Linked DNA regions of Homo sapiens: region 2 is linked to region 1. Evidence: promoter capture Hi-C in human tissues and cell types (Jung and others, 2019). All regions are on one chromosome and are shown on one strand. Each heading gives the region's core, a stretch centred on a gene start or on the middle of the fragment in contact. The rest is flanking DNA. Distances are from core to core; before and after follow the strand shown.

Region 1 (3,589 bases), core at 316-2,815:
AGTAGCCGGCTGGGCATGACTGTGCATTTGTCATGGGGTTTATGCTCTTGCTGCTGAAGAGGCCCCCAAAAAGCAGTCCTGAGTTTTCAGGTACTTGGCTGCTGGCCACACACCAAAAAGCCCTAAATTCAGCTTTTGCCACCTGGAACACATCTTCACACACGGTCTTGCAGAAGACGAGGAGAGTGCACTTTCGATGACACTCCAGGTGGTTGTAACCCTCCTCGTGGATCTGGGATAACAGGTGCACCGGGGAGTAGCCAGAGGGGCAGGAGAAATCACCAGTGAGTGGATTCTTCTGCTCCAACTTTTGGCAGAGGAGGACATCCCTATTCCCTGAGAGCTGAGTGCATTCCTGATAAACCCCACCGAAAGAGAAGTTGGTCATTTTCCCCTCGCAGGAGCCATCATCCGTGTTGGCCTGAAAATTGAAGTTGGGAGAATTGAGATCTGTGCAGCCAGGGTAGGTGTTGAATGTATAATAGCGCTTCACAGCAGTTTCCACTGTCTTTGACACCTTCTTCACCAGGGGGCCTGGCAAGTCAGGTAGCATGTTGGGGTTGATGAAGAAATGCAGCGGCAGGCCAGAGCGGTCGATGGCCACCAGGTGGTTGGTGATACCCTGCTGCCAGGCCTGGAGGGTGATGCCTGGGTAAAAAGGAACCCCTCCAATGCTCTGCACCCTGGAGTTGGTTCGGTTTGAGAGGTAGCTCTTGGTGAGGACATTCTGCGAGGTATAGTTTTCCTCAAATTTGAAGTTCACGGTGTTTTGAAAGGCAAGTCCAGCAGAGGCGGTCACGGCACTACGACTGCTCTGGCTGTCTTGGAGGAAGGAGGCCCTGAGGTGGTCCTCCTGAATAAGAGCAGCCCCAGCGTCGACACTGGTGGTGACGTGGGTGCCATAGTTGAGCACCAGGAGTTCTGCCAGGTAGGTGGCCATCCTCGTCTGGTTGTTCTCTAGACGGTCAGAGATGTCAAGGAGTTCCTTCCTAAAACCTGAGCTTAGCTCTAAAGTTGGGTTGATTTTGACTGTGTAGACGAGGTTTCTTACCTGAACTCGGGTAGTTATAGCTTGGTCCTTCACTTGGAGGGTCTTCATCCTCTGGAACTCAGTGGAAAACTTGCCATTGACTTTGGAAAAAAGAGAGAGTTCTGTGTTGATGGAGTAGGAGGTGCTACTCTGGTAATTTGCCCAGGATTCCAGGATTTCTGAGTTCATCTCCAGGTTGCTCTGTTTCTGGGGAATGGTGAAGATTTCATCAGGGATGATATACTGTCCATCCTCTGTTGTCCTGCAGTTGGAGTAAGTCAATTCCATAACTCGTCCCATGTCCACATTCCGCAGATTGTCCCAGCCCCCTCCAGGTAGGACTTCCAGGACAGGTAGTTTCAAGGCATTCTTGCATTTTTGAACTCCAACTTCGTCCATCTCTCCCGAAGGCTTGCCTGATTTAGCCCATGCTGCCGCTGCCCAGAAGAGGATGGTGGCCCTGAAGTTGTTCATGGCTCAGACAGCCCCAGCCACTCACCAGCCCTACACAGCGGCCAGCAAGCTTTGGGCAAACTAAGATGGAGAAAACAGAAGCAGATGATGAAGCGGAAAACTCATGAGTTCTCTAAAAGCTACAAGTTCCTCTTTAAGCTAATTTAATGACAAAATGGGGAAACGAGAGTTGGTTGGAATATTAAAGACCATCAGGTCTTTGAAGAATTTATGCCGTACTAAACATGCAAACACACCCCTACATGCCTAACAGGTAGCTATCCTAATTTTTCCCCCAGCTCTGGCTGGTTACTCTGCTGCAGGGGTGTGCACTTAGAAAAAAATCCCGACCCCACACCCTACTGCTTCCTCCACCAGAAAGTTTGGCTTTGCTTTTTGCTCATTCTCTTGGACTTGATGTTTCATATTTTCCCTGACTGCTGTCTCTTGGGACTCCATTATCAGTTTTCTTTTACTATAAATGCAGAGGCAAATGACCACACCACCCTTACTGAAACACCCTGGCTCCACCATACCTATGCAAGCTGTTAGTCAAGGCCAACCCTGGGTTTCCTCTTTGCCTGAGGGTGGAGGCTGTTTCCACAAAAGAAAGGAGTGAAACTCTTGGACACTTGTCCTGTGGGTTTCACTGTTATGAACCATAGCAATTCTGTCTTTGGGGATGGCATTGTCTGGAGCACAGCTGACAGGGCCTGAAGAGGATTCGGTTGCAATATGCTGGGAAACCCCAATTTGCATTGTCCTAAGCATTCAAAGCGAGGGCAAGGAACTCCTACACTGTGTTGTTTTCATTCAGATAGAAATGTTCAAGACAAAACCACACTATTATCTAGATTTTGATTTATCAACAGCAGACAGGGGCCAAGGAACATATGTGTATGTGTACACACATTTATATATCCTCTGTGTGTGTGCATTTTGTATGAAGTTGGTACCTGTTATACCTTTAATTTTTTGTTCCATTGCTAAGTGTGTGTAATCAGTTTAGGTGGATAAAAAAGAATGTGGCTCTTCACTACCCAATATTTTTTCTAAAAGCAAAAATTCATTTGCTATATCATTAGAAGAATATAATTACATGAGTTTCTTTTCAAGTTCCAATGCCAGCTCTATTAGAGCCCATAATTTAAAACAATGGTGACAGGTTTGATTGAAACCCAACTCTGTTAATTCTTTGGGACAATTAGGCTATGTCTTAGTATGCTTAGTGGTAGCCAGGGAATCCAGAGGACTTAGTGAAGCTCCCAGTTGCATCCTTAACATTCCCAAGATTATACCATGAACTAGATACAGTACTGAGACTGAAAAAGTCATGTTGCAATTCACAGGTATCACTACACCATCACCTGTATGCATCCTGGAAGGAAGGTTCCAAGGAGTTGAATTCCTCTGTTGGTTATTAATGCAGCAAAGAAGTGTTTTTAGAAAGAATGAGGCTAGTTATCTTGCTTCCCAGGCTGGGCTTCACCAGTTATTATCAAAACCATGATGGTGTTCTATAAATCTAGAAATACTGCATTCCGGGTATATTTTTTTTTCCAAGACAGGGTCTTGCTTATTGCCCAGGCTTGAGTGCAGTAGCTATTCACAGGCATGGTCCCACTACTAATCAGCATAGGAGTTTTGACCTGCTCCATTTCCAACCTGGACCCGTTTAGCCCTCCTTAGGCAACCTGGTGATTTGCTCCAAGGAGGCCACCATATTGATGCTGAGCTTAGTGCAGACACCCAACTGGCATAGCACACTACAGCCCAGAACTCATGGATTCAAGCAATCCTCCCACATCAGCTTCCCAGGAATCTGGGACTGCAGTCATGCACCACCACACCTGGCCATTCTGGTTCTATTTGTGCCACAGTTATCATGCTTCTGGGAAGTGACACCAGCCACCTAAGAGGGATTAATTTATGAACCAGTGCCTAGTCTGTATTTGGCTAAAGAACCAAATCTTTGCACAGGATGTTCTAGTTAATTTATAAATCAGTTAGCCATAAATTTATACCTCAGCAGCATGATCCCAGAATTAGAAAAATGAGAGTTGAATGCCCTTGAGTACTTCCAATAAGTCTGTTGAAATACCTACA
Region 2 (3,554 bases), core at 788-3,287, 390 kb after region 1:
GCCATGGGGATGGTCATCTGTCTGGTTTGAATGAGCGATTTTTGCTTCTGTGTTCCCTAAGCCTTTGTCTGTGTCGTACTTTCCATAATACTATCACAGAAAATAATGTTTTCTACCTGTTTTCATGTCTGTCTCTTTTAAACTACACACTTCTTGAAAACAGAAACTATGATGTATTTATCTTTGCATGTCCCCAGTGCATCTAGCATAGGAATTTGCTCAAAAATAACTGCTACTGAGCATATACATCTGATTCTAGGTGATCTGGGAACATATCAGATCCAGAGCCAAAATTAAAGCAGCTAAATTTATGGAACAGTTTATGATTATAAAGGTAAAAAAGACCATGCCACAAACTGCCGCACAAGTGGGTGGGGCTGTCATATCAGCACTCTTCCCACTGAGGCTTGAGAGGAACTCCTGGCAGCAGCTCCAGTGTGCAAGAACCTTACCGGCATGGGGATCTTAGAGAGTTCTTTTCCAATGCAGTTCTTCATGATGCTCCATAAATTGAGGCTATAGTTTGGCTTGTATGGTATTCTGGTTCTCTTTTCCTTTTTGGTCTCCTCCAGCTGATGCTTGTACTGAGAGCAAAACAAAGCCATTCAACCACCCACAAAGAACAGAAAACCTGGTATTTATAACCTTCCCTTCCCCCGTGCTAAAAAAAGAAAAAAAAATCAGTTTCTCTTAGCACTTCACAAAAAAAAAAAAAAAATCCTTGGGAATCACAACCCACGTCCCTCACCTCTGAGATCTCCCATATAAGAATTACCTGTTCATCAAGGCTGATGTCACTGCTGGCTCCACTGATATTGCTGCCAGTACGTCTGTACAGATGGGAAACACAGGAGAATTAGAACAAAGACCAGAACTAGAGTGTGGTCCTGGACATTTCTTTACAAAGCAGAATGCCAAGTACACTGTATAAACTTATTGATGGGTGATCAAATGACGACATTTAGAGTAGGAATGAATTTAAGTATCTCTGGAGAATTTGTTTACGTAAAAAAGCTGACATTTTTTCACTTACTTAAGAAAAAGGGCCCATTCTACAAAGAGATCTTGAGACAAAAAAAAAAAAAAAAAAAGGGAAAAGGGCCCAGATTCAATATTGACAATTATAATACTCTCACTGAAATGTTTTTAACCTTTTGATGGTTAAAATATGATGCTAAAATACCACCATATTGATGGTGAAGATATGTTTATTTGCTTCAACAATCAAGGATAACTCACTTGTGGCCCAAATTTTCAGGCATGGTGATGATCTCAGGTGCATCAAAAAATTCATTCTCATCATCTTCATCGCTCATGTCCCCTTTGCCAGAGCAGCACTGATCTACAAGAAGAAAAGCCCCATTTGTTGACTTTGGTTATCTTTACCAAATGTCTGATATAGCAAGTTCTTTTAAATACTAACCACAAACACAGCAAAAAATGGTAGAAAGCAGTGGAAAATCCAGAATAAATCAATGGGTTCCAATTCCATTTCACATGACTCATTGACTGTGAAGAGTTTGGAGTTCTCCTATCAACTGCAGAAAACCATCTGGCTCACCTTAGACCAGGCTACCTGAGAGCTAAGTGTCTTACCTTTACCAGAACCCACATTGCCAGGAGTGTTTGCCGGCAGCACCGTGGCTCCTCGGAAGGCCCTCTCCAGGTGATTATGCTGCTTCGCCAGCTGCTCGAGGGTTTCTTCCAGTCGGATACGCTGGTCTCTTTCATACTGTAGTGACTTTTGCCATTTTTTACTATGGGTCTGGGCTAACATGAGGAAATCTCTGCAGGCCTGTATGGAGAAAGCGTTGACTGTGTCAGCTCAACTAGTCAGAGTTTCCCCTCAGGCTTCTGCAAGCCCATTGAGTAACCTTATTCTGGGAACTTTTAACTGGCAAATTACAATGAAAGACTTTCCCTTTTATGCCAAGGTATCAGGGACAGCTAGCTCCACGCTGAAATCAAGGTCAAACCCAGAAAAAAAGTAAATATGGTTGTCATGGTTCTTTTACACTTTCCTGGTCACGAGAACCAAACAAATGCCAAGTGAGCAGTAAACCCAGACGAAGTATTTGTGACAACATCAAAAAGAGCAGGTATGTGAACTGCACCAAAAGTAGAGAACTGCTGACTGAAAGAAGGATGAGAGCACACACAGGATAACTGCTTTCAACAAATTCTTGACTAAACTCAAGTAACTGAAAGCTAAGGACTTCAGACACTGAGAACAGAGAATCCACACTGAGGTAGACCAAGTATGGGGAAACTCATTTGGTTTTTATTTTGGTCACTAAGAGAAACAACTGACCTTAAAAATTAGGAGCCTTCAGTGTGCAGGAAGAAGGTTTAAAAAGAAAAATATTAGAAGCCTACTTGAAAAATCAAAGAAGAGGTTTAGAGAAAAAACCCACAAATATGATTATATCAAGTCCCTCCACTGGCTCCCCACTAACATGAGGATCAAATACTAACTACTGGTTATGAACATAAAGAGACCTTCATAATACGGCCATCACCTGCCTTGTATTCTCCTCGCCAGGCATGTGTACTTAGCACTGCACCCTACAATGCAGCCACACTGAACTGCTCACCATTTCTTGCACACAGATTTCTGGCACAGTCTGGAGTAGAGTGCAGATCACAGCTCACTGCAGCCTCAACCTCGTCGGGCTCAGGTGATCCTCCTACCTTAGCCCCGCTGAGCAGTTGGGACTACAGTTATGTACCACCATGGCCGACTAATTTTTGTATTTTGTAGAGATGGAATTTTGCCTTGTTACCCAGACTAGTATCGAACTCACGGACTCAAGTGATCTACCCATCTCAGCCTCCCAAAGTGTTGGGATTACAGGCATGAGCCACTGTGCCCAGTCGTGGACACAGATTTCTTTCAGGCCTACATACCTCAGCATATGCTATTCACTCTACCTAGAATGTCCATCCCTATCCCCTGTTTCTAAGAAAGGGCAAATCTTTCTTTAAGATCTATGGCAAATGCTACTTTGTGACATCTCCCCACCAGTCTCATAAGCAGCCAGTCTCTTCTCTACATTTCCACTGCATTTTGCACAAACTTCTATTTTACACATGCACAGCAGTATCGTGACTGATTTTCTATCTCTCCAGATGGATCACATGCAATTTAAAAACACATTTTTGAGTTTATTCATATATAGATCTCCAGCTCCTAATTTAGTTGCTCTGTACATAATAGGGATCTGATAAAGTTTGCTTAATAAATAAATAAAGGAAGGAGGCAAGCAACGTAAGCTTAAAAATCTATTCCCTGTTACAGAGAAGCTAAAAGGTAAACAGGATATTTACTCCCATGGTTTCAACCACTGCCTATAGGCTAATGGCTACTAAATCACTAATTCTAGCCCAGCACTTACTGAGATTCAGAATAGAATATCCAACTCCCTATTCAACGGCTCAAAGTAACTTCAAAATTAATGCATCCCAAAGTGAACTCATCACCTTCAGTTTTTTTTTTTTTTTTTTTTTTTTTGAGACATGTTCTTGCTCTGTCACCCAGGTTGGAGTGCAGTGGC

The links. Contacts are between HindIII fragments. The study calls those that stand out against the background at their distance.
Region 2: a contact is called between a fragment that was not itself captured here and the fragment with the promoter of MPEG1 in region 1, in 1 of the 25 tissues and cell types used here (thymus).

The regions. Positions count from the first base shown.
Region 1 is chr11:59,211,362-59,214,950 of GRCh38, forward strand. It overlaps MPEG1 (macrophage expressed 1), which reads right to left and starts at 1,566. Exons shown (of 1, transcript NM_001039396.2): 1 at 1-1,566. The coding sequence starts at 1,504. It also overlaps the pseudogene RN7SL42P. RefSeq lists an enhancer at 1,543-1,742. The HindIII fragment of the contact is 9,754 bases long and covers 1-3,589 here.
Region 2 is chr11:59,600,044-59,603,597 of GRCh38, forward strand. It overlaps OSBP (oxysterol binding protein), which reads right to left. Exons shown (of 14, transcript NM_002556.3): 4 at 1,597-1,795; 5 at 1,240-1,342; 6 at 776-830; 7 at 453-584. Among named protein-coding and RNA genes, the nearest start is that of MIR3162, 6.7 kb to the left of the region's middle. The HindIII fragment of the contact is 4,373 bases long and covers 1-3,554 here.